5 separate regions of the Homo sapiens genome follow, and all the other regions are linked to region 1. The links are contacts of gene promoters, found by promoter capture Hi-C in human tissues and cell types (Jung and others, 2019). All regions are on one chromosome and are shown on one strand. Each heading gives the region's core, a stretch centred on a gene start or on the middle of the fragment in contact. The rest is flanking DNA. Distances are from core to core; before and after follow the strand shown. Region 1 holds the start of SPINT1 (serine peptidase inhibitor, Kunitz type 1). Region 2 overlaps OIP5 (Opa interacting protein 5). Region 3 holds the start of INO80 (INO80 complex ATPase subunit). Region 4 holds the start of EXD1 (exonuclease 3'-5' domain containing 1). Region 5 has its middle 50 kb from the start of INO80.

Region 1 (4,748 bases), core at 1,676-4,175:
GCATGAGCAACTCAGGTCAGTAAGAGTCATCACCACCTACACTTTCTGCTACTTCCTTGTGGAACAGGCTGCAGCCCTGGTTCAGTGGGACTTGGTGGCCCAGACTGGCCCTCAGATATGTCCCCCTCCCATCCACAGGAATCCCCATCTCGCCTCTCCTCAGAGACCCAGGAGAGCTACTGGAAGGATAGGGAGGAAAGAGGACCCTCCTTAGCCTGGCAGAGAGACTAGCCCAGGAAAAGTCTGCGGAGGAAAGCCCTTTCTCCACTTTCCAGAACGGAGACCACCCCCAGATGTGGCCCCAGCCCAGTTCTGGCCCCCAAACTCCCCAATCCCCGGTTCTGTTATCCACTGGGCTATTTTGGGTCAGAATGCTAGGTTTTTACCAGAGAGATGGTCTTGTGTGAAAAACAGCACAGGACTTTTTTTGGAGGTCTCCCCTGGGGTGAATCTCAGGCCTACCATTTATGGGCAGTGTTACCCTGGGCAAATTCTTTAACATGGGAGTCTTAGTTTCCTAATCTAAAAAGTGGGATGACTGCTAGTAGCACCCTTTTTGGAAGTTGTTGTGATGAGGCCTGAGTGAGAGGATGTGTGGCACAGCAATCAGTAAGCTGTAAAGTGCTCACAGAGGTTATGAGAGGTGACCTACCCCTGCCCTGGAGCCCCACCTGGCCAGAACAGCAGGTAGAGAGAAAGGGGGAACCAAGGCTCTGGACTGGCCCTGATCCCAGCAGACAGTTCAGTCCGGGGAAGAAAGAGGAGGAGCCCTGGCCTCCGCTTTGCCTTTATCTATGGAAGTAAACAAGGTTTGGCTACCAGATTCTAAGCAGGGAGAGCCCTGTCTGGCTCATGCGCATGCACACACACCTGCCTGGACAGCTGACATCCCTTCCCTACTAGGTATACATACCAACAGGCTGACTCACCCCACAACCCTCCTCATCCCCCACCCCAGAGCCTCTAGGCTTCTGTGCCTACAACATCACTTCTCTCCCTTTGGATCAACCGCAGACTGGGCTTGTTTTCTAGTCTCGGATCTGGCAGTCTTCCTGGACCACCAAAAGGCCAATGCATTCCTAGGGGGTAGAGAGATGCTAAGCAGTCCCAAGTCCAGCCAGTGGAGGAGACTATGGCCAGGCTCACCTGACAGGGCATCGGTGTGCCCAGACCAGTGCTTGGCCAAGGTGCCTTTCTAGTCACCAGACCATCCAGACAGCTCACTCCTTCAATCAGCCTATCAGTGCCAGAGGTCAGGAGTCCTGGGGACTTCCTCTCCCCTCCAGTACACACAGCCCAGAGCCAAAGGCCTCCCTGTGAGCACCAGCCCATCACCTCTGAACATCCTGAGTTCAGGAGCCAGAGCCTGGGCCCTGCCCTCCCTACTCATGTCCCCTTTCATTTGTTTACTGTTTGTACTGCCTACTACCGATGTGAAGGCGATCTGGCTGTGACATCTGTCACCCCATTGATCACCAGGCTTGATTCGGCTGTACTGCCTACTTCTAAGGAGGGCTTCAGGTAGAAATAATCCCAGCACTTTGGGAGGCCAAGGTGGGTGGATCACCTGAGTTCAGAAGTTCAAGACCAGCCTGGCCAACATAGTGAAACCCCGTCTGTACCAAAAAAAAAAAAAAAAAAAAAAAAAAAAAAATTAGCCGGGTCTGGTAGCGGGTGCCTGTAGTTCCAGCTACTCCGGAGGCTGAGACAGAAGAATCACTTGAACGTGGAAGACGGAGGTTGCAGTGAGCAACCAGAGATTGCGCCATTGCACTCCAGCCTGGGCGACAAGAGCGAGACTCCGTCGCAAAAAAAAAGAAAGAAAAAGAAAAAAAAAAGTGAACTCTCCTTAACTCCTCTCTGATGTTCGTCTCCCCTAGGACCCCATAACCAGTCCCTTTTTTGAGTCTCTCCAAACCCATCCATCTTGGCACCCTCCTCACCTCCAAAGCCCTGGGTCCGCAGCTGGCGGTAGGAGCGGTACACTTCCCTCGTGAGGTAGTTGATGAAGCCCTCCCTGGGCGCGAACTTGCACACGAAGTTCTGCTCGTAGAGGCAGTTGATGAGGAAGCAGGCGGCGATGGCGTCCTCCCCGCGGTCGGGCTGCAGCTCCACTAGCGCCAAGTTGCAGTTCTGGGTGGTGCAGCAGGCGCGCACGCAGTCCCAGCCCCGGCGCACGGTGGGGGACTCCAGGAAGGTAGCTCCGTTGCTGACCGAGGCGTTGGTGTCCAGCACGAAGCCAGGCACCCCGGCGGTAAAGCTGTTCAGGCAGTCGGCTCCCGCGGGCAGCCCAGGGGGCGCGGGCGGTGGCCCGGCCTGGGTGCCCTGGAGGCCGAGCGTGCACAGAAGCCACAAGGCGACGGCAGGGATGCCGGCCGGGGCGAGGCGGGCGCGGGCCATCGTCCTCGCAGGGGCCATCGCCTTCCTCCCCAGGGGGGTCACCTTCAGAGCGCGGGCCTCTGGGTTCCGAGGGTGCTGGTGACCTGAGAAGAAGGGAGGGGACAGAGGAGGAGACACACCTGATCAGCCCGGGAGACTTTGGAGGAGGCGGGCCGGCCGGGAGGAAGTGGCGGGGAGGAGGGACCGGAGCACCCCAGGATCGAAGAGGGCGCACGGGCCCGGCCCTCCCACGCGCCCTCCAGGGACCCGGCAGCCAGACAGACGGACAGGCGGACCGCTAGGGAGCTCAAGTACCCGGACACACGCACGAGCGCAGAACAAAGGGCCGGACATGCTCCAGCCCGCTCCGCCTGCGCCTCGGCCTTGCGCGCGGGGGCCCGGGTTACCTGCGCAGGTGAGTTGGGTGGGGCCGGGTCCGCCGAGGTTCCGGTCCCAGCTTCCTGCGCGGCTCGGGTCGCGGCTTCCGACCCGGTGCTCGGAGAGCTGGGGCTCGGCCGCCTTCTCCCCCTGGTTTCTGGTGAAACTGAGTCAGCGCCGTCGGGGCGGGGCCGACATTCACCCTTGCGCTGCCGGCCCCGCCCACGCCCGGTGCGCTGCGGCCGCCTCTAGCGCGGAGCTCCAGGCCCGGCCCGCCCCGCGGCCCCGCAGCCCCGGTGCCTCCCCGGCAGCCAGCTCCCCGGAGGGGCTCTCGGGCTCCACCCAGTCCAGCCTCGCGAGGGAGCCCCGCGCCCGAAGCGCATACCCAGCCGGGAGGGGATGCGGCCGGGACGCGAGGGTCCGGCCTCTGGGGCGGCGGCCTCCAGTCTTCCTTTCCGGCCGGGGCCTGCTTTCCCAGCCCCAGACCTGAGGCCCGATGCAAATGATCTTTCCGGCCCTCAGGAAATCATTTCCATTTCGTGGCGGGAAGGTAACCCAAAAGTTGCGTGGCTGCACCTGTGATAACAGGGATCCGGGATGTCTGCCTCACTGTCAGCTCCGGGAAGCCCTCCCTGCTGTCAGGGTGAGAAACGGAGGCGATTCCCCGCGTCCAGGCTCCCCTGCGTGCTCCACGGGGCTTCCCTGTTGTTCGAGGCCCCTCCTCATCTTGTATGTACAGTTCGGTCCATTCCCTGCTATGGCTCATTGGACTGTTGCCCCCTTCCCTGGAGCCCAGGCTTCCTCTCTTTCACAAAGGGGACGCTGCTGGCTACTTTCTTCCAGGGAAATGTCATCCTTGGAAGCCTGGAGGTTCCAGTTCACCAAGTAGCTGAGTTAATGCCCTTCACGAAACAGTGGACTCCTTGAAGCCAAGCTCATTGCTCCTCCTGAGTAAAAAACTCTTAAGAGACCATTCTCTACGGCAAGGGTCTGAACAGGTGAAAGACAGATGAAGGCAGGGCTGGAGGAAGGAATCACATAGCATGCTCTCTTAAAATACAGATTCCAAACCTTTTCCTGATGGCTTAACAACCCCCAAACCAATGGGAACATTCTTCCCAGTTTCTCATCCAGAGCAGCTTTGCCTAGCAGATCCTGTGGCCAACCCTTGGATTTTGCTGAACTGCAACATCCTCCAGCTGCTCACATGATGCGTGTTGGGGTGGGAATCTGGGGCCTGTCTCCCCTTCTCTGGATGTTTAGGGTTTATCCACAGACCCTGGCACACTGGTGGATATACAACAATGGTGGTATGCTGGGAATGAAGAAAATGATTGTGCAGTCACTGGGAAGAAAGGGTTTTGTTGTGATTTGATTTCCCCTTATGGCTAACACATTCAAGAATCTTTATTTATTTATTTATTTATTTTTTTTTTTTTTTTTTTGAGACGGAGTCTTGCTCTGTCACCCAGGCTGGAGTGCAATGGCACGATCTCGGCTCACTGCAACCTCTGCCTTCCAGATTCAGGAAATTCTGCCTCAGCCTCCCAAGTAGCTGGGCTTACAGGTGGGCACCACCACGCCGAGCTAATTTTTGTATTTTTAGTAGAAACGAGGTTTCACCTTTTTGGCCAGGCTGGTCTTGAACTCCTGACCTCAGGTGATCCACCCACCTCGGCCTCCCAAAGTGCTAGGATTATAGGCGTGAGCCACTGTGCCTGACCTCAAGAATCTTAATACAGGAAAATATTACCTTATGGTAATATTACATCACCATAAATTTATCATTACATCCATTATACACACCATTATAAAAACCAACATGAATTCAGCACTGACAATGCCCAAACTCTGTTCCTAAGCACTGCCCACATATTACCCTATACTCAAAACAAACCTAGGGAGGTAGTATTTTTAGCCCCATTTTACAAATGAGCAAACAGGCTCAGACAGGTAAACTGACTTGTCAGGTCATTCAGCATTGAAGCGGC
Region 2 (4,568 bases), core at 659-3,158, 470 kb before region 1:
CGTTGGTTTCCATCTGTATTCTACCCATGCTGCCCTGGCTGCCTTGAGAGGTCACTTCTGCCTTTCCAGTGACAAAATGGTGTGGTGAGTAGACTTAGATATTGATCATCAAATACATTTTATTTTATTTATTTTGAGACAAAGTCCATCAAATAAATTTTAAAAGGTTTTTCAGGAAAGACAAAGTAGGCTGAGCACAGTGGCTTATGCCTGTAATCCCAGCACTTTAGGAGGCTGAGGCGGTGGATCACTCGAGGTCAGGAGTTTGAGACCAGCCTGGCTAACATGGTGAAACCCATCTCTACGAAAAATACAAAAATTAGCCAGGTGTAGTGGTAGACGCCTGTAATCCCAGCTACTCAGGAGGCTGAGGCACGAGAATTGTTGGAACCTGGGAGGCAGAGGCTGCAGTGAGCTGAGATCACGCCACTGTGAGATCACGCCACTGCACTCCAGCCTGGGAGACATAGTGAGATTCTGTCCAAAGGAAAAAAAAAAAAAAGTAGCTGGGCATGCTAGTGCACACCTGTAATCCCAGCTACTTGGGAGGCTGCGGCAAGAGAATTGCTTCAACCTGAGAGGTGGAGGTTGCACAGTGAGCTGAGATTGCACCACTACACTCCAGCCTGGGTGACAGAACAAGACTCTGTCTCAAAAAAAAAAAAAAGAAAAAAGACAAAGTGTTTGTACCAAAAAGATGCTAAAGTCAGGCACTGTCTTTGACAAAAAGATAGCAGTGGGCCAGGTGTGATGGCTCGCGCCTGTAATGCCAATGCTTTGTGAGGCCAAGGTGGGAGGACTGCTTGAGGGCAGGAGTTCAAGACCTCCATGGGCAATATAGTGAGACTCCTGTTTTTTTTTTATACAAAATTTTAAAAAATTAGCTGGATGTGGCGGCGTGCCCCTATAGTCCCAGTTACTTGGGAGGCTGAGGTGGGAGGATCACCTGAGCCCAGGAGTTCAAGGTTACATTTTGCTGTGATCATACCACTGCATTCCACTTTGGGTGACAAAAAAAAAAAAAAGCAGTGGGACCAAAATATAATCTTATAACATTATGATTATCTTCCATGTCTTATCATACCATATCTTAAAAGTCATACCATGGGAAAATTCAGAGGGTATTCTTTCATTAAAGAAACTTGTTGCCAGATGTGGTGGTGTGTGCCTGTAATTCTAGCTACCCAGGAGGCTGAGGCAGGAGGATCACTTGAATCTTGGTGTTTGAGACCAGCCTAGGCAACATGGTGAAGCCTCCCATCTCAAACTGCTCCCTTATGGGCCGGGTGCAGTGGCTCACGCCTGTAATCCCAGCACTTTGGGAGGCTGAGGTCGGGGGTTCACCTGAGGTCAGGAGTTCGAGACCAGCTTGGCCAACATGGTGGAACCCCATCTCCATTTAAAATACGAAAATAAGCCAAGTGTGGTGGCACACGCCTGTGGTCGCAGCTACTCGGGAGGTGAGGCAGAAGAATTGCTTGAACCCAGGAGGCGGAGGTTGCAGTGAGCCAAGATCAAGCCACTGCACTTCAGCCTGGGTGACAGAGCTAGACTCTGTCTCAGAAAAAATAAAAATAAATAAAAGATAAAAAGAACATTCTAGAAGGCAAGCTTTTGCAAAATAATGTTGCAGTAGATACCTTTTGGGTTTGTGCCCAGCCTCTCTCTCCCTCTAATAGGTGGGGCCTTGTATATTTGTATCATGTGTGATTTGTATCATGTGTGATTCCCACTCCCAGGTACTGGATCAAGAATGAATACCTGGCCAGGCATGGTGGGTCATGCCTGTAATCTCAGCACTTTGGAAGGCTGAGTTGGAGGATTGTTTGAGCTTAGGAGTTTGAGACCAGCCTAGGCAACATAGCAAGACTCTGTCTCTACAAAAAATTTAAAATATTAACTGTGTATGGTGGTGTATGCCTGTAGTCCTAGCTACTCTGGAGGCTAAGGTGGGAGGATAGCTACAGCCCAGGAGTTCAAGGTTACAGTGAGCTATGATTGTGTCACTGTATTCTAGCATGGGGAGCAGAGCAAGACCCTGTCTCTTAAAAACCAAAAACGGTGCTGGGCGTGGTAGCTCACGCCTGTAACCCCAGTACTTTGGGAGGCCGAGGTGGGCAGATCATGAGGTCAGGAGATCGAGATCATCCTGGCCAACATGGGAAACCCCGTCTCTACTAAAAATACAAAAAAAATTAGCTGGGCATGGTGGCGCATGCCTGTAATCCTAGCTACTTGGGAGGCTGAGGCAGGAGAATCACTTGAACCGGGGAGTCAGAGGTTGCAGTGAACCAAGATCGCGCCACTGCACTCCAGCCTGGCAACAGAGCGAGACTCTGTCTCAAAAAAAAAAAAAAAAAGAAAAATGGATACCTGACCCAAACTAAGCCAACCAGTTTTCTACCTTAGGAATTTGAAACAAGGGCCCAGAAATACCAGTTACGTGTAGATAGTACTAGTGTTGAAGTTTGGAAGTGAAAGCTCTATGTATGGGATAGCTATTTCCCATGTGATGCATGTAGCTGCAGGGAAGTCTTCTCTGCAGTAAAACATGAAGCAGACACAGAGAAAAGTAAAAATAATGATCATGTAGCCTCATAGTGTCAGAAAAACTACCCTACTGGTTATCCTTTCTCATGAATTACATTGGCTATTTCATTATTTTCCTAATAAATTGCACTTTTAACTTAAGCTTTTTTACTTATTACAAGAAACTGAAACATCCTTAGAAGTCTTTCCTTGACCATTAAAAAACAAAAACAAGCATTGACAACCTAGTTTATGTAGGCATTATGCTTATATCACTGAGTTCTTAATATAGTTTAAGAAAACTAGGGCTCAAAGAGGTGGAAGAGCTGAGATTTGAGCATGTCTTAACTCAAAAGCTTATTTTCCTTTCATAAAACTAAAAGGTTTCCTTTTTCTCATGTCTTTTTTTTTTTTTTTTTTTTTGAGATGGAGTCTTGCTGTGGCGCCCAGGCTGGAGTGCAGTGACGTGATCTTGGTTCACTGTAAGCTTCACCCCCTGGGTTCACACCATTCTCCTGCCTCAGCCTCCCAAGTAGCTGGAACTACAGGCGCCCACCACCACGCTTGGCTAATTTTTTGTATTTTTAGTAGAGACGGGGTTTCACTGTGTTAGCCAGGATGGTCTCGATCTCCTTGACCTCGTGATCCGCCCGCCTTGGCCTCCTAAGGTGCTGGGATTACAGGCATGAGCCACCGCGCCCGGCCGCTTTTTCTCATTTCTTATGCTTAGATAGATGTTTTTAGCTGAGTTATGGTTGACTAAACAATAAAACTTATCAGCCAGTCCTTTACCATGGGTTGCTCACTGTGCATTAGGTATACCATTTGTTCTTCATTGCAAATTTCCAACACAAAATATATACCTGAGATCCTGAGATGGATTGATCATTCTCTTTTTTTAAAGACGGAGTCTCACTCTGTCACCCAGGCTGGAAGTGCAATGGCATGATCTCAGCTCACTGCAACCTGCACCTCCTGGGTTCAAGTGATTCTCCTGCCTGGGCTTCCCAAAATGTTAAGATTACAGGCATTAATCACCATGCCCAGCCTCAATTTTTAGATTCTTTTTTTTTTTCTTTGAGACGGAGTCTTGCTCTTTCGCCCAGGCTGGAGCTGGAGTGCAGTGGCACCATCTCGGCTCACTGCAAGCTCCGCCTCCCAGGTTCACGCCATTGTCCTGCCTCAGCCTCCCGAGTAGCTGGGACTACAGGCGCCCGCCACCATGTCTGGCTAATTTTTTTGTATTTTTAGTAGAGACGGGGTTTTACCGTGTTAGCCAGCATGGTCTTGATCTCCTGCCTTGGCCACCTAAAGTGCTGGGATTACAGGTGTGAGCCACTGCGCCACCAATTTCTAGATTCTTAAGCAATTTCTATTTAGAATTAACTTTAAAGTGGGAAAAAAAACTGTAAATGTGTGCTGTTAGTAATCCCACATCTTTTTTAGAAATCAGTACAAAAGTAAATGTTCTAGAGAAGCAATAATTGCATTTTTGTTAGGGCAGTAAGCTTTTAGTAACATATTTTTAACATAAATTTGAAAAGCATTATGGGATTTTGGTTAATTTCTTAATCTTTAAAATGAGTTGGATAAAAGGTCAGGACATTCTTTTTGATTAAGTAGAAACTTTGGCCTTTTCCTCTTGGATTCGGGATGGCTGCTGCAATTACAGTCATTACATCTATTGATGATAGCATCCTAAACATGAAGGAAAAGGATATGGAGAGTATGGGAACACAAGAAAATTCCCCCTTTTCATCAGCATAAATTTTTTTTTTTTTTTTGAGACAGAGTCTTGCTCTGTCACCCAAGTTGGAACACAGTGGTGTGATCTCAGCTCATTGCAACCTCCGCCTCCCAGGTTCAAGTGATTCTCCTGCCTTGCCTCCCAAGCAGATGGGACCACAGGTGCGCTCCACCACAGCCTGCTAATTTTTGTATTTTTATTAGAAATGGGGTTTTACCATGTTTGCCAGGCTGGTCTCAAACTCCTGACCTCAGGTGATCCCCCCGCCTCGGCCTCCCAAAGTGCTGGGATT
Region 3 (4,885 bases), core at 1,991-4,490, 270 kb before region 1:
TGTTTGTCTAATGGTGAGTTTTGTTATCCCTCATTCCTTCCACATTTACTAAAATCCTACTCTAAGAAAGCATTCTTTTCTTCTTTCTTCTCTTCTCATTTATTTATATTAGTATTTATATCAGATATTTACTTATATCGGCATGAATATTAAAATTAATATATATGGGTCATCTGTGGTTCATGATCCAATGCTATTATGATTTACTTTGTTGCCTTGGCCATTAGGAGTTCTTTCAGGTTGCCTTCTGTGGTTTCTGTTTTTTTTTTTTTGAAACAGAGTTTGCAGTTGTCACCCATGCTGGAAACTTTGCCATTTCTGCCTCAATCCTGCTACATAATTCCCATTCCTTCCCTTCTTCCATTCTCCTCATGTAAGAAATCAATCACATTAGTTCCTGGTTAAAACTTTTTAAAAAAATTTTGTTTGAGATGGAGTCTCGCTCTGTCGCCCAGGCTGGAGTTCAGTGGCGTGATCTCGGCTCACTGCAAGCTCTGCCTCCCAGGTTCACGCCATTCTCCTGCCTCAGCCTCCTGAGTAGCTGGGACTACAGGCGCCTGCCACCACGCCTGGCTAATTTTTTTGTATTTTTTTAGTAGAGACGGGGTTTCACCGCGATAGACAGGATGGTCTCGATCTCCTGACCTCGTGATCTGCCAGCCTCGGCCTCCCAAAGTGCTGGGATTACAGGCGTGTGTGACAAAATTGTGTAGCATTTGCATATCACCTACACATCCTCCCATATACTTTAAATCATCTCTAGATTACTTATAATACCCAATACAATGCAAATGTTATGCAAATAATTATAGTGTATTTTGAAATGAGTTATTATTTATTTTTTGAACATTTGGTAGAAATGGGGTCTTCTTTTGTTGCCCAAGCCAATCTGTAACTCCTGGCTTCAAGTGACACTTTGGCTCAGCCTCTCAAAGTGCTGGGGATTACAGGTGTATGCCACTGAGCCCAGCCTATTTTTTGAGTATTTTTGATTTGCTGTTGGTTGAATCCACGGATATTGAACCCGCAGATATAAGGGCCAATTATATATCATACTTTTGCCTTTAAGCATTTTTTTTTTTTAAAGACAGTCTTACTCTGTTGCCCAGGCTGGAGTGCAATGGCTAGATCTCCGCTCACGGCAACCTCCGCCTCCGGGGTTCAAGCGATTCCCCTGCCTCAGCCTCCTGAGTAGCTGGGGGGATTACAGGCGCGCGCCATCATGCCCAGCTAATTTTTGTATTTTTAGTAGAGACAGGGTTTCAAGGTTGGTCAGGCTGGTCTCAAACTCCTGACCTCGTGATCTGCCTGCCTAGGCCTCCCAAAGTACTGGGATTACAGGCGTGAGCCACCGTGCCTGGCCATGCATTCAAGCAAATTTAACTCTTGGTTTTTTTTCTTGAGGCAGAGTCTCGCTCTGTCCCAGGTTGGAGTACAGTGGCTCAGTCTCGGCTCACTGCAACCCCTGCCTCCCAGGTTCAAGAGATTCTCCTGCCTCAGACTCCCGAGTAGCTGGGATTACAGGTGCCCGCCACCACGCCCGGCTAATCTTTTTTTTTTTTTTTTTTTTTTTTTTTCAGTAGAGACGAGGTTTCACCATGTTGGCCAGGCTGGTCTCAAAATCCCGACCTCAAGTGATCCACCCGCCTCAGCCTCCCAAAGTGCCGGGATTACACGCGTGAGCTACCGCGCTTGGCTTGCAAATGTAACTTTTTTTTTTTCTTTTTGAGATGGATTTTTTTTTTTTTCTTTTTGATACGGAATTTCGCTCTTGCTGCCCAGGCTGGAGTGCAATGGTGCGATCTCGGTTCACTGTAACCTCCGCCTCCCAGGTTCAAGCGATTCTCCTGCCTCAGGCTCCCAAGTAGCTGGACTACAGGCACCCGCCACCACGCCCGGCTAATTTTTGTATTTTTAGTAGAGATGGGGTTTCACCATATTGGTCAGGCTGGTCTCGAGCTCCTGACCTCAGGTGATTCGACCACCTGACCTCCCAAAGTGCTGGGATTACAGGCGTGTGGCACTGCACCCTGACACAAATTTAACTTTTTAAAGGTCAGTTAACTCAGCACAAGAAGGCTACTTGATGACCTTAATAAAGTACTTTTTAGTTAAATGCTAAGGGCCAGGTTAAAATGGATTAAAGAATGAGACCCAAAGGAACTGAATTAACAGCATATTTAACTTTCAGTAAGTTCTAATTCTTATCTACACCTAGGCCTTACCCTAGGCAATTCTCACCACACATCCTGGTAGTTGGGTCGATTACATTTATTATGTTGTCTTTTTTGTAGAGACGGGGTCTCGCTATGTTGACCAGTCTAATGGACTGCTCTGAGACGTTTGGCCTGAGGTGATCCTTCCAGGCAGGAGGATCACTTCAGGCCAGGAGACTGGGAACCAGCCCAGTAGACTGGGCAACATAGCGAGACCCCAAGTTTAGTAAATGTGGGTGGCAGTGGACTCAAATTGTAGAATTGGCACAGGTAAAAGCAATTATTCGCTTTTCAGAGGCACACTGTGTGGATGTGAGAACAGGCTGGCATTTCCGATAACAGGTCTGCGTGTTCCCAAGTCCTTGTATCCCACAACCTTCACGTAGACATCTTATCTAACTATGCTGTCCTACCCAACCTATAGCGTTCTTGCTCCCAGAGTCTAAATGGGAGCCCCAAACTAATTACTGTATAGTAGTCGAACTACACACCAGGCACTTCCCCGACAATCTACAACCCCATCCAAAGGGGTCAGAAACTAGTAACAAAATACCAGCTGCGAGCCTCTCCTTCCCCTAAAGAGATCTTATCAACTTGGCTGCACCTTCCCACCTCTAGCCTGCGGGAACAAATATCCCAGGATCCCGGGCGGTTTCGATTGACGTTACTTCCGGGAAAAGTAACCTTGCATCGGCGGTTGCGGGCCTGGAAAGCTCTCGCGACATTTTCTCCTGCGAGATCTGCTTGCTCACTGTAGCGATGACATCCTCCTCCTCCTCCCCGCCGCCTTTCGGCAATCTTCGCCAGTCCCAGTCCCGACTAATCTGTACTCAGATGGCATGGATCAGGGTCTCCCCTCGAACCCCGGTTCGCACGGGGCGTCAGGTGGCAGCGGCGGGGTGCGAGCTGCGCGAGGCCGACGGCAGCGGCACTACGGGTGGCCACGGGCAGGCGACGAGCAGTGAGTGTGGGCGGGGTGGGGGTAAGCCACCCGTGTAGCGGCTCGATTGTTCTGGCCTGGCTATGGCGCCTCTCCTCCCCCCCGCCATGGCTCCCCGTGTCCCTGCTCCGCTCCTCTCAGTGAGTGAAAGTGGCCGCCGCCGCCGCCGGCCCAGCGCCCGCAGCCGCCTCAGCGCCGCCGCCATCTTGGGGTCCCAGGAGCCGCGGAGGGAGCGAGCTAGGAGCGTCCACGCCCAACGCAGTCACCGTCCCACGGCCTCAGAGAGCGAACCGCGGCTCCACCGTCGGCGGGGCGACCCCCCCCTCCGGACCCCGCCCGCACCCCGCCCCCCCTCCGCCGCCGTCGCGGCGGCGGGGCCAGGCGGCCCGAGGTGAGGCAACTAGACGTGGGCGGGCGAACGGAGTGGGGGTTGTGTAGGTCTTGTTGCGCCCCTCTCTGCGGGCGACAACTGGGCCGCGTCTTAAAGGGGCCGTCGCCCCCGGCCCTTGGATTTGTTGGGGTTAGTATGGAGGATGGGTGTGGACACTCCCCGCAGGGTTGGGACCTCAGGGACTAGGGCCTTGTCCTTCCCGTTTCATATCTCTGGAGACCCGGGGTCATGCGGTGACCTCAGCCACCTGAGGAAGCCCGTGGGGCGCCCACACGTGGGGAGTGTGTTAGACCAGGTGCACGTGGGACCCGGTGGGGCGGTGTCGGGCTAACACGTGTGTAGGTTTGGGGGTGGGCAGGGGCAGGGCGGAGGCTGGAAGGCCTTGAGTGGGAACCCCGTGAAGGTTGTGTATCTGTCATTTTAAACAAATGAGATCTAAGGGCTTGTTAGTGTGTCATTTTGTAAGGGGCAAGTTGAGATACGGTTGAATGGTGCACGCTGCTGGCTGGTGTTGGGTGGGGGCAGGCTGACACCTGCATAGACTTGGGAGTGTCTAGATGACACCTCTTCTGGTTTTTTAGGTTTTTACATAGCGACTAGGAAAGTGTCATCCTATTTTGACATTCCTTCTTGAGCTCGCTAATGGAAAGTACTACTTCCGTAATCTCCGAGGCTAGAAGCCCCCTACAGTTTAGGAATGACAGAACCTAGGCAGCCACTTACTATTCTAGTTAACAGCCAACTGTGCCTGGAATTCTTTGATTCACACACTGTCTCTAGTTTGATGTACTTGTTAGAAATGGGGGAAGGAATTTGGAGGTTGACCTGGCTAACGTCACAGGTTACTTTTCCAGTCAGTGACTTTCATTATTTCCTCCACAACAAAATTATTGTGGCTTTTCAGTGGCAACTTAAATTAAATAATAGCTTTATTGAAATATGATTCAAATACCAAAAAATTCCGCTTTCTAAAGCGTATAATTAAGTAATTTTCTGAAACTATATTTATTAAATTCTGTAGCCATCAACCACTATTTAATTCATCACCCTAAAAGAGAATCTCTAGAAGCCATTTAGCAGTCACTCCCCATTCCCCCTCCCTCCAGTCTTAGGTAACTATTAATATATTTTTTGCCTAAATTTACCTAAAAAAGAAACATATGTATCTTTCTTTGCCTAGTTTGTTTCACTTAACATGGTGTTTTCAAGGTTCATCCGTGTTGTAGCAGGTATCAGTACTTAATTCCTTTTTTTTTTTTTTTTTGAGACTGAGTCTCGCTCTGTCGTCCAGGCTGGAGTGCAGTGGCGGGGTCCCGACTCACTGCGACCTCCGCCTCC
Region 4 (4,476 bases), core at 1,222-3,721, 390 kb before region 1:
AATTCGGTGTCACCCTAGACCTAAAGTAGTACTAATTACAAATGTGGCCAGAAGTTATGGCCACAAAACGTAATAAAATGCTTGTTGAATCCAAACTGCTTGCGTCTCCACTCCGAGGGTCAGAGTAAGTCAGTGGCCAAACAAGTACTGCAAATTATAAAGAGCTAACTACTTTGGGTCATTCAAATCGTGAAAAGGACTGCCTTGGTAGGTGGAGAGGTTACCATCATTAAATGTCTTTACAGAGAGGCTTAAGGGCCATATTTTAGGGGAGGCTGAAAGAAGCAAACCAGTCCAGAAAGGGGTGGGGCTAGAAAACATCCCTTCCAACTTGAAAACTCCAGAAAGTTGAACTTGTCACAAAGCAGAGAACAGCACTTAAACAGGCCTGAAAAATTCTGTAGTTCCCCATAGCACTCCTCAGTACTATCTGCATATGGGCCGGAGTGAGTTACTGGTCATGTCATTATCAAAGACAAGTATGATGAAGAGACAGAGCTCAGGTGCTACATCCTTCATTAACTCAATAAGAATCATAAAGGTTTACTGAAAAGATAAAATATTGTATGCATCAATACAATTGTATCATACATTGCATTATCAAGGACTATTCAAAGTTATGATGGTATTTTACAGCGCTTCAGAATCCCGAGTCCTTTTGCTCCTTTGTTCAGACTAATGAGGAAGAGACTGGACTATAAAAAAAAAAATCAGTTCTGCAGGGCACGGTGGCTCACACCTGTAATCCCAGCACTTTGGGAGGCCGAGGTGGGTGGATCACTTGAGGTCAGGAGTTCGAGGCCAGCCGGGCCAACATAGTGAAACCCCATCTCTACCAAAAATACAAAAATTAGCCAAGCGTGGTGGCAGGCACCTGTACTCCCAGCTACCTGGGAGGCTGAGGCAGGAGAACTGCTTGAACCTGGGAGGCGGAAGTTGCAGTGTGCCGAGATCACGCCACTGCACTCCAGCCTGGTTGACAGAGGGAGACTCCGTTTCAAAAAAAAAAAAAAAAAAAATCAGTTCCTAGTACAAATTCACACGGAGATTTTTGGAGCACATCCAATTTCAATAGCGAATAAAAAAGTACACCAGCATAGTAGAAATCAATACATATATGAGATTAGGACAGCAAGTATCGTCGTGTAAGTAAAAAACTGGTGGTCACAGTATCCGTGTTTTTTCTCTAGAAGTTCAGATTGAAAGAAGTCTCACAATCCCAGACCCCTGATTGTTTAAAGGTCTCCAGGCATCGGGTCATGTCTCCCAAAGCCTTACTACACGGTCTTGCTTTCTGGGTGGTTTTCCCAATTTGTGACAAGAACTTGTTTGTAATTTCCCATAGTTGTCAGAGGTTTTAGGTCCTTACCCAGAAACGGATTTTCTACAGAATCCATCTCGAGTTCCTGAATTTGCTTCTCGGGCTTTACCTACTGTTCAGGATGCCTCTTCATAGGGAAGGGTGGTGCGAGGCAACAGAAAGGAAAGGAGTTCGGGGACTTTGATGGGCAGGGTGCAGAAAAGGGGGGCGTCGACGCTCTACGAGTGATCAAGAGTCCCGATTTTGAAGGGAAGGACAGCCCCACAGTAGCTAGAGCCCCGCTCCAGGAAGCTGCAGCTGGAAGAACAGGTCTTCCAGCTCTCGGTCCCCAAACCTGGAGGCTGCCCAGGACCCCCCAACCTCACAGGCACCCGAGCTCCAGACCTTAGCGACAGCCGCCCTTGGTTGTGAGGCCAGCCTGAGGCGCCCGGCGTTCCCACCCCCAACCCGAACTCACAGCCGGTCTCCTTCTTGATCTCCTCGAGCTCTTCGTCCCGCAGTAACGTGGAGGCCCGAGAACCCATCGCCGTGCCGGGAGCTCCTCCGGGAGCAGCGGCGCCAGAAGAGACGGCGACAGGAGGGAAGGAGGGAGGGAAGGAAGGGCTAGGGGTCAAGAAGGGAGAGGGCAGTGTTTCCACTGCGGACCCGGGAGGGAACCCAGGGGTGGTGCGCTGGGGAGGGCGGCCCCGAGGACCCGCCAATCAGGCGCGAGGCAGCGCCCGGCTCAGGAGCCAACGTCAGCGTTCGAGTTCCAGCCCCGAATGAATCAGCCCAGCTCCAGCCCAAGTCCTGCTGAAGACGGACCCCGCCCCCGGAACCGCAGCTGCCACCGGCCTTAAAGGGGCGATGCCACTCGGTCGCTAACGACGCAATTAAAAGGGCAACGTCATTGACCAACAGTTTTACAACAAACTAACCTGCGACAGGCAGCGTAGTCTACCTTTTCTCACAGGAATCGAACACTAGGAATCCTACTCGATAGGTGGCACGGATTGCGGAGAGAAACTTCGCGTGGGGGGGAACCCTAGGGTGTACCCTTCGGGGACTGCACGCGCTCTTCATCTTTCCTGGCTGCCGTCCTCCTCCCGGCCGCAGGGGGCGCTGGGGAGCCGGCCTCGGGGCCGCGTGCTGATTGGCTCCTCGGGAAACAGACGAGACTGGACGTTGGGCCGGGCGGGCGTCGCCTCTGCGGCGTGTGTCCCCGGCGTCGCGGACCTTTCTCCAGGTTTTCAGCCTGTGATTTGATAACCGCCGCCGGGTGGCGTGGAGCGTCCCGAGACTTCTTCCTTCATTGCAGCCCCTCTTCTTTTAGTTCTAGACTGAAGTTCGAGGAACGCACCACTTGGCTGAAATTAGGATCCAGATTTCCCAAACTTCCTTCGGAGGAAAAAGCCCTAACGATGGAGGACAGTGAATTCCTAGCTTATGGTCCGCCATTTATTTGAAGTTCCTTATTTTGTCTTAAAAATGAGAAATTTTGCATTTTATTCTCATGGTGTATTGTTTGTTTTGATTAAAAAGGTAGGCCTGGCACGGTGGCTCACGCCTGTAATCCCAGCACTTTGGGAGGCCGAGGTGGGCAGAACACCTGAGGTCGTGAGTTCGAGACCAGCCTGACCAATATGGAGAAACCCCATCTCTAATAAAAATACAAAATTATCCGGGTGTGGTGCCGCGTGCCTGTAATCCCAGCTACTCGGGAGGCTGAGGCAGGAGAATCGCTTGAACCCGGGAGGCGGAGGTTGCAGTGAGCCGAGATCGCGGCATTGCTCTCCAGCCTGGGTGACAGAGCAAGACTCCGTCTCAAAAAAAAAAAAAAAAAAAGGTAAAAGCCACCCGTTAAATTAGTGCCTACTCTCAGGTGAACCAGTTCTTACTGCTTCACCTGCCTTACCCCTTCACACCTGTTTGGTTAGAACACGTATAAGATAAGGAAGAACCGAATTCTGACTGCTGTTAGTACCCAAGTACCAGGATATTTTTGTCGTAGCAGGCTTTCCCAGGTCAACTTAAGTTACTAGTTTTAAGTGTTACCTAAGGCTTTACAGCTTAGCCTGAGGCCCCACACGTTCCCTGCAAGCTGAGGTTCTAGTTTGAAGAACTAGAGTTTTGTTTGTTTGTTGTTGTTGTTGTTGTTTGAGACGGAGTTTTTGCTCTTCTGCCCAGGCTGAAGTGCAAAGGCGCCATCTCAGCTCACCGAAACTTCCGCCTCCCGGGTTCAAGCGATTCTCCTGCCTCAGACTCCCTAGTAGCTGGGGTTACAGGCATGCGCCACCGTGTCCAGCTAATTTTGTATTTTTAGTAGAGACAGGGCTTCTCCATGTTGGTCAGGCTGGTCTCGAACTCCGTATCTCAGGTGATCTGCCCGCTTCAGCCTCCCAAAGTGCTGTGATTACAGGCGTGAGCCACCGCACCTGGCTTGTTTTGTTTTTTTGCGACAGAGTCCGGGCTGGAGTGCAATGGCCTGATCACTGTGCATTTTCGGCTCACTGCAACCTCCAGGCGGGTTCAAGGGATTATCATGCCTCAGCCTCCTGAGTAGCTGGGATTACAGGCGCGTGCCACCACGCCCAGCTAATTTTTGTATTTTTAGTAGAGACAGGGTTTCACCATATTGTCTAGGCGGGTCTCAAACTCCAGAACTCAGGTGATCCACCCGCCTCGGCCTCCCAAAGTGTTGGGATTACAGGCGTGAGTCCCCGTGCCCGGCCTTAGAGTTATTTTTATGATTGTCGTGCACTTGTCTAACCTAGTGATGTTGTCCTTTGTACTCAGTAACATTTTGGATATGCCCGTCTAAGAGCTAAATCACTGGAGCTGCTTTGTATGTTGGAATATGGCTGTGATAGGAAAATTTTGTCAGCCCCATGAATGTCCCTTTTCTCAGTCAGCCTTGAAGCCCATCTCTTGATGCTGACCTTACTTTTTTCCTTCCTAATCTTGAATCTTAGTGTTTGCAGCTGTCTCCAGTCAAAGCTTTCTTTGCTTCATGTTAGTATTTTTTTCTGACTTTAATTTTTTTTTCTTTAATGTTTCTCTAATTCTCTTATTTTCCAGGTGTTTCACAAACTTTCCTTTCTTGGGTACCTTTTAAAAGTATAAATTGCTTGAACCCGGGAGGCAGAGGTTGCAGTGAGCCAAGATAGCGGTACTGC
Region 5 (4,559 bases), core at 657-3,156, 320 kb before region 1:
GAAAAGGAATGAGAAAGATCACACTCCTAAAATAGGGCAAGGCTGGGCGCTGTGGCTGATGCCTGTAATCCCAGCACTTTGGGAGGCTGAGGTGGGTGGATCACCTGACGTCTGGAGTTTGAGACCAGCCTGACCAACACTAAGAAACCCTGTCTTTATACTAAAAATACAAAATTAGCTGGGTGTGGTGGTGCATGCCTGTAATCCCAGCTACTCAGGAGGCTGAGGCAGGAGAATCACTTGAACCCGGGAGGCGGAGGTTGTGGTGAGCTGAGATCTCGCCATTGCACTCCAGCCTGGGCAACAAGAGTAAAACTCCTTTTCAAAAAAAAAAAAAAAAGGTAAAAGCCCGGGTGTAGTGGCTCACGCCTGTAATCTCAGCACTTTGGGAGGCTGAGGTGGGCGGATTACGAGATCAGGAGATCAAGACCATCCTGGCGAACACAGTGAAACCCCATCTCTACTAAAAATACAAAAAGTTAGCCGGGTGTGGTGGGCACCTGTAGTCCCAGTTACTCGGGAGGCTGAGGCAGGAGAATGGCGTGAACCCAGGTGGCGGAGCTTGCAGTGAGCCGAGATTGCGCCACTGCACACTCCAGCCTGGGCGACGAGCGAGACTCCCTCTCAAAAAAAAAAAAAAGTAAACAGGAAGAGATACACACAGAGACCAAGAAGGAGAAGACAAATAGGAAGAAAATCAGAATAGTATTATGTAAACCAGAAACCTCATTTGTAGTTTGATGAACTCTCATTGTAAGTTATATCAACCACAAATTATTTTTAACGGTTTTACTAAGATATAATTTTTTTTTTTTTTGAGACAGAGTTTCACTCTTGTTGCCTAGCCTGGAGTGCAATGGCTTGATCTCAGATCACTACAACCTCCGCCTTCTGGGTTCAAGCGATTCTCCTGCCTCCTCCCAAGTAGCTGGGATTACAGGCATGCACCACCCCGCCTGGCTAATTTTGTATTTTTAGTAGAGCCAGGGTTTCACCATCTTGGTCAGGTTGGTCTTGAACTCCCGACCTCAGGTGATCCACCTGCCTTGGCCTCCCGAAGTGCTGGGATTACAGGCGTGAGCCACCGCGCCCGACTGATATAATTTTTTTTTTTTTGAGACAGTGTTTCACTCTATCACCCAGGATAGAGTGCAGTGGCGAAATCTTAGCTCACTGCAACCTCCACCCTCTGGGGTTAAGTGATCCTCCCACTTCAGTAGCTGGGACCACAGGCGTGCACCACCATACCCAGCTATTTTTTTGTATTTTTAGTAGAGACAGAGTCTCGCCATGTTGCCCAGGCTGGTCTCGAACTCTTGGACCCAAGCGAACTGCCCACCTTGGCCTCTTTTTCTTTCAAGTCAAATGATTTTGTTAGACTATGTTTTGGTGTTGGTCATTCTGGATCACCATTTTCAGATACAGTGTGATTTTTAAAATATGCTGTATAGTTTTTTGTTTGTTTTTTAGAGATGGGGTTCTTATTATACTGCCAAGGCTAGACTCCAACTCCTGGCCTCAAGTGATCCTCCCAAAGTGCTGGGATTACAGGCATGAGACGCCCTGCCCGGCCATCTTACATAATATTCTTAATGCATTTTAGCTTTTTATGCACCAATATATTAGAGTGTTCATCTATTTATTTTTTATTTTTTTTATTTTGAGACACTCTCACTCTGTCACCCAGGCTGGAGTGCAGTGACATAATCACTGCTCACTGCAGTCTTGACTTCCTGGGCTCAAGCAATCTTCCCACCTGAGCCTCCCAAGTAGCTAGGACTAGAGGCATGTGCCACCATGCCCAGCTAGTTTTCAAAAAAAAATTTGGGGCTGGGCGCAGTGTCTCACACCTGTAATCCCAGCACTTTGGGAGGCCGAGGCAGGCGGATCACAAGGTCAGGAGTTCGAGACCAGCCTGGCCAGTATGGTGAAACTTCATCTCTACTAAAAATACAAAAATTAGCCAGGCACTGTAGCATGCGCCTGTAGTCCCAGCTACTCAGGAGGCTGAGGCAGAAGAATCGCTTGAACTCGGGAGGCGGAGGTTGCAGTGAGCCGAGATCACGCCATTCCATTGCAGCCTGGGTGATAGAGCAAGACTCCATCTCAAAAAAAAAAAAAAAAGGGGTTTCTTTGGGCCAGGCATGGTGACACATGCCTGTAATCCCAGCTACTGGGGAGGTGAGGCAGGAGAATCACTTGAACCCAGAGGTGGAGGTTGCAGTGAGCTGAGATCACGCCACTGCACTCCAGCCTGGGTGAAAGAATTAGACTTCGTCTCAAAAAAAAATTTTTTTGGCGGGGGCAGACAGGTTCCCACTATGTTGTCCAGGCGGTCTAGAACTCCTGGCTTCAATCAGTTTTCCTGCCTTGGCTCCCCAAAGTGCTGGCATTACAGGTGTGAGCCACCACATCAGGCTAGGCTCAATTAATTTTTTAACTTCACAGAGCTTCCTATTTTGTTGTTTTTGTGTAGTGTTAAAATCACAGTTATTTGCTTTCTGAGATTTCTTGGCTTTGTCTTCTTCCCTAGTACTTTTATCTCTCTTTCCTTTCTGTTTTCCCTACCCTGCTCAGTTTTTGTTCCATTTCTAGAAGTTTCTCCCCAGTGTGTGAACTTGTCCTGGAAGGGATCCATGGTTGGTTATTATACAGAGCTTATAGGGTCTAGACTGTTCAAGCCTGGGTATACCTTCAGACTGTGGGATCCTTTCATGCAATTGCTATTGGAGTGAAAAAACCCCTTTTGGTTTCAGCTGTTGTTCTCAAATTGGCGCTTAACACTCTCTAGTGAATACCAATTTTCTTCTTAGGTCTGTCAGATACCCCATTGCTTCCCTCTACTGTTTTTCCCACATGGTTGTCAGTATCTCTTGGGTTGTCCCCACCTCTTTGCAATTTCAGGTTTATGAGTTACTTCATCACCCAGTATGTTGTAAATATTGTTCATGGGTTTGGAGTTTTGTCCTCTAATTATTCTGTTTTTACATGGGGATTTGAGAAGATCTAGAAAGTATGCCACCGTTACCACCCTGCCATCTTCCCAGAATCTTGGTATATACTTTCCTTGCTTCTAAAAGGCCTAATACTATGGCTTCCATCTTGGGTGCACTCTTTCTGTCAGATCACTTGTTCTGGTTGCCATGTTGGGAGAATACTTTTGGGAGGATTCGGCCCGACAGAGAACCAAGGACTCCAGCCGACAGTCTGTGAGGGACTATGTCTTCATCTCCCACAACCAAACAGTGGTCATTCCTCTCCAGTAGATCCTCCCCAGTCAAGCCTTCAGGTGACTACAGTCCAGCCTATAGCTTGACCACAAACTTATAAGAGAACGTGAACCAGAATCATCCAGCTCAGCTGATCCTGGATTCCTGACCCCCCAGAAACTGGGAGATAATAAGTATTTGCTGCTTTTTTTTTTTTTTTTTTGCTTTTGAGAAAGTCTTTATTTTTCTGTTATGAATAATTGAATTTTCTAATTATCCCAAATGATTTTATAAATTCCATAACTTTGATATGCCTGCCTGGGATCCATGAAATAAAAGTATAATTCCTTACCAAAAGAGAAGCATCATATACACTGAAAGTCTCCATGTTTCATATTTTCAAAAATAAAAGTGACTGTATACCCTTTTATTAACTATATGGTAGCTTGGTAAAATTTTTATATAATTTTTAATGATCTGTGGTGTTCTATGATGAGGCAACATTCCACCAAATTAGCCTTCCAAAAGTTGCAGTATCATCTATAATTATGACAGAAGTTTTGTTTTAAAACCAGAGTCAGACTGAATGTGGCTTTTTTACAGCTGAAATTTATGCCTTATGTGTATTCATAAAACACTGATATCTTAGTGTCACATTATCTTTACTCTTTGATTATACCCTTCTTGAAAAGTAAATTTACTTATCAAATGATAAAGTTTTAGGGAAAGTTATAAAAAATTTTTTTTCTTAAGGCTTCATGGAAGGCCGGGCACGGCGGCTCACACCTGTAATCCCAGCACTTTGGGCGGCAGAGGCGGGCGGATCACGAGGTCAGGAGATCGAGACCACGGTGAAACCCCGTCTCTACTAAAAATACAAAAAATTAGCTGGGCACAGTGGCGGGCGCCTGTAGTCCCAGCTACTCGGGAGGCTGAGGCAGGAGAATGACGTGAACCCGGAAGGCGGAGCTTGCAGTGAGCCAAGATCCCGCCACTGCACTCCAGCCTGGGCGACAGAGCGAGACTCCGTCAAAAAAAAAAAAATACTTCATGGAATAGAATTACATGTAATCAGAATGACTACATAAGACCCTTTTCTGGTAATGAAAGCATGGAGTCTTAACCAAAAAGCTAAGCAGAATTGTTAGATCTTTTGGTTTCTGTCATAATGCACTATTGGAACTTCAAGTAGATATAGTACATTAATATGAAATACTTTGAAATACACCATCTTCTAAAAAAAGGCACTTACACAAAAATCATGTAACACTAGGTAGGATGTTGAAATGACTGGTATGCAATATTTTTTTAAAGACTTCATTTTTGGTCAGCATAAGTTTTCTTTAAATA

What was found. Contacts are between HindIII fragments. The study calls those that stand out against the background at their distance.
Region 2: a contact is called between a fragment that was not itself captured here and the fragment with the promoter of SPINT1 in region 1, in 2 of the 25 tissues and cell types used here (H1 embryonic stem cells and spleen).
Region 3: the fragment with the promoter of INO80 here is called in contact with the fragment with the promoter of SPINT1 in region 1 in 3 of the 25 tissues and cell types used here (mesenchymal stem cells, ovary and spleen).
Region 4: a contact is called between the fragment with the promoter of EXD1 here and the fragment with the promoter of SPINT1 in region 1, in 2 of the 25 tissues and cell types used here (lymphoblastoid cells and mesenchymal stem cells).
Region 5: a contact is called between a fragment that was not itself captured here and the fragment with the promoter of SPINT1 in region 1, in 1 of the 25 tissues and cell types used here (spleen).

The regions. Positions count from the first base shown.
Region 1 is chr15:40,842,225-40,846,972 of GRCh38, reverse strand. It overlaps SPINT1 (serine peptidase inhibitor, Kunitz type 1), which reads right to left and starts at 2,925. Exons shown (of 11, transcript NM_003710.4): 1 at 2,787-2,925; 2 at 1,944-2,483. The coding sequence starts at 2,418. SPINT1-AS1 (SPINT1 antisense RNA 1) reads left to right here and starts at 2,449. Exons shown (of 2, transcript NR_146468.1): 1 at 2,449-2,794. RefSeq lists silencers at 2,244-2,483, 2,774-2,833, 2,914-3,143, 3,305-3,487 and an enhancer at 2,781-3,352. The HindIII fragment of the contact is 27,771 bases long and covers 1-4,748 here.
Region 2 is chr15:41,315,174-41,319,741 of GRCh38, reverse strand. OIP5 (Opa interacting protein 5) reads left to right here. Exons shown (of 5, transcript NM_007280.2): 3 at 1-84. Among named protein-coding and RNA genes, the nearest start is that of OIP5, 15 kb to the left of the region's middle. The HindIII fragment of the contact is 5,957 bases long and covers 1-4,568 here.
Region 3 is chr15:41,114,635-41,119,519 of GRCh38, reverse strand. It overlaps INO80 (INO80 complex ATPase subunit), which reads left to right and starts at 3,240. Exons shown (of 36, transcript NM_017553.3): 1 at 3,240-3,547. RefSeq lists enhancers at 1,257-2,036, 2,753-2,852, 2,818-3,597, 3,663-3,742, 3,793-3,842 and 2 more and a silencer at 3,293-3,562. The HindIII fragment of the contact is 26,384 bases long and covers 1-4,885 here.
Region 4 is chr15:41,228,752-41,233,227 of GRCh38, reverse strand. It overlaps EXD1 (exonuclease 3'-5' domain containing 1), which reads left to right and starts at 2,471. Exons shown (of 12, transcript NM_001286441.2): 1 at 2,471-2,749. It overlaps CHP1 (calcineurin like EF-hand protein 1), which reads right to left and starts at 1,960. Exons shown (of 7, transcript NM_007236.5): 1 at 1,779-1,960. The coding sequence starts at 1,845. RefSeq lists enhancers at 2,117-2,176, 2,197-2,266 and a silencer at 2,387-2,446. The HindIII fragment of the contact is 9,013 bases long and covers 1-4,476 here.
Region 5 is chr15:41,164,468-41,169,026 of GRCh38, reverse strand. It overlaps the pseudogene CIBAR1P1. Among named protein-coding and RNA genes, the nearest start is that of INO80, 50 kb to the right of the region's middle. The HindIII fragment of the contact is 6,382 bases long and covers 1-4,559 here.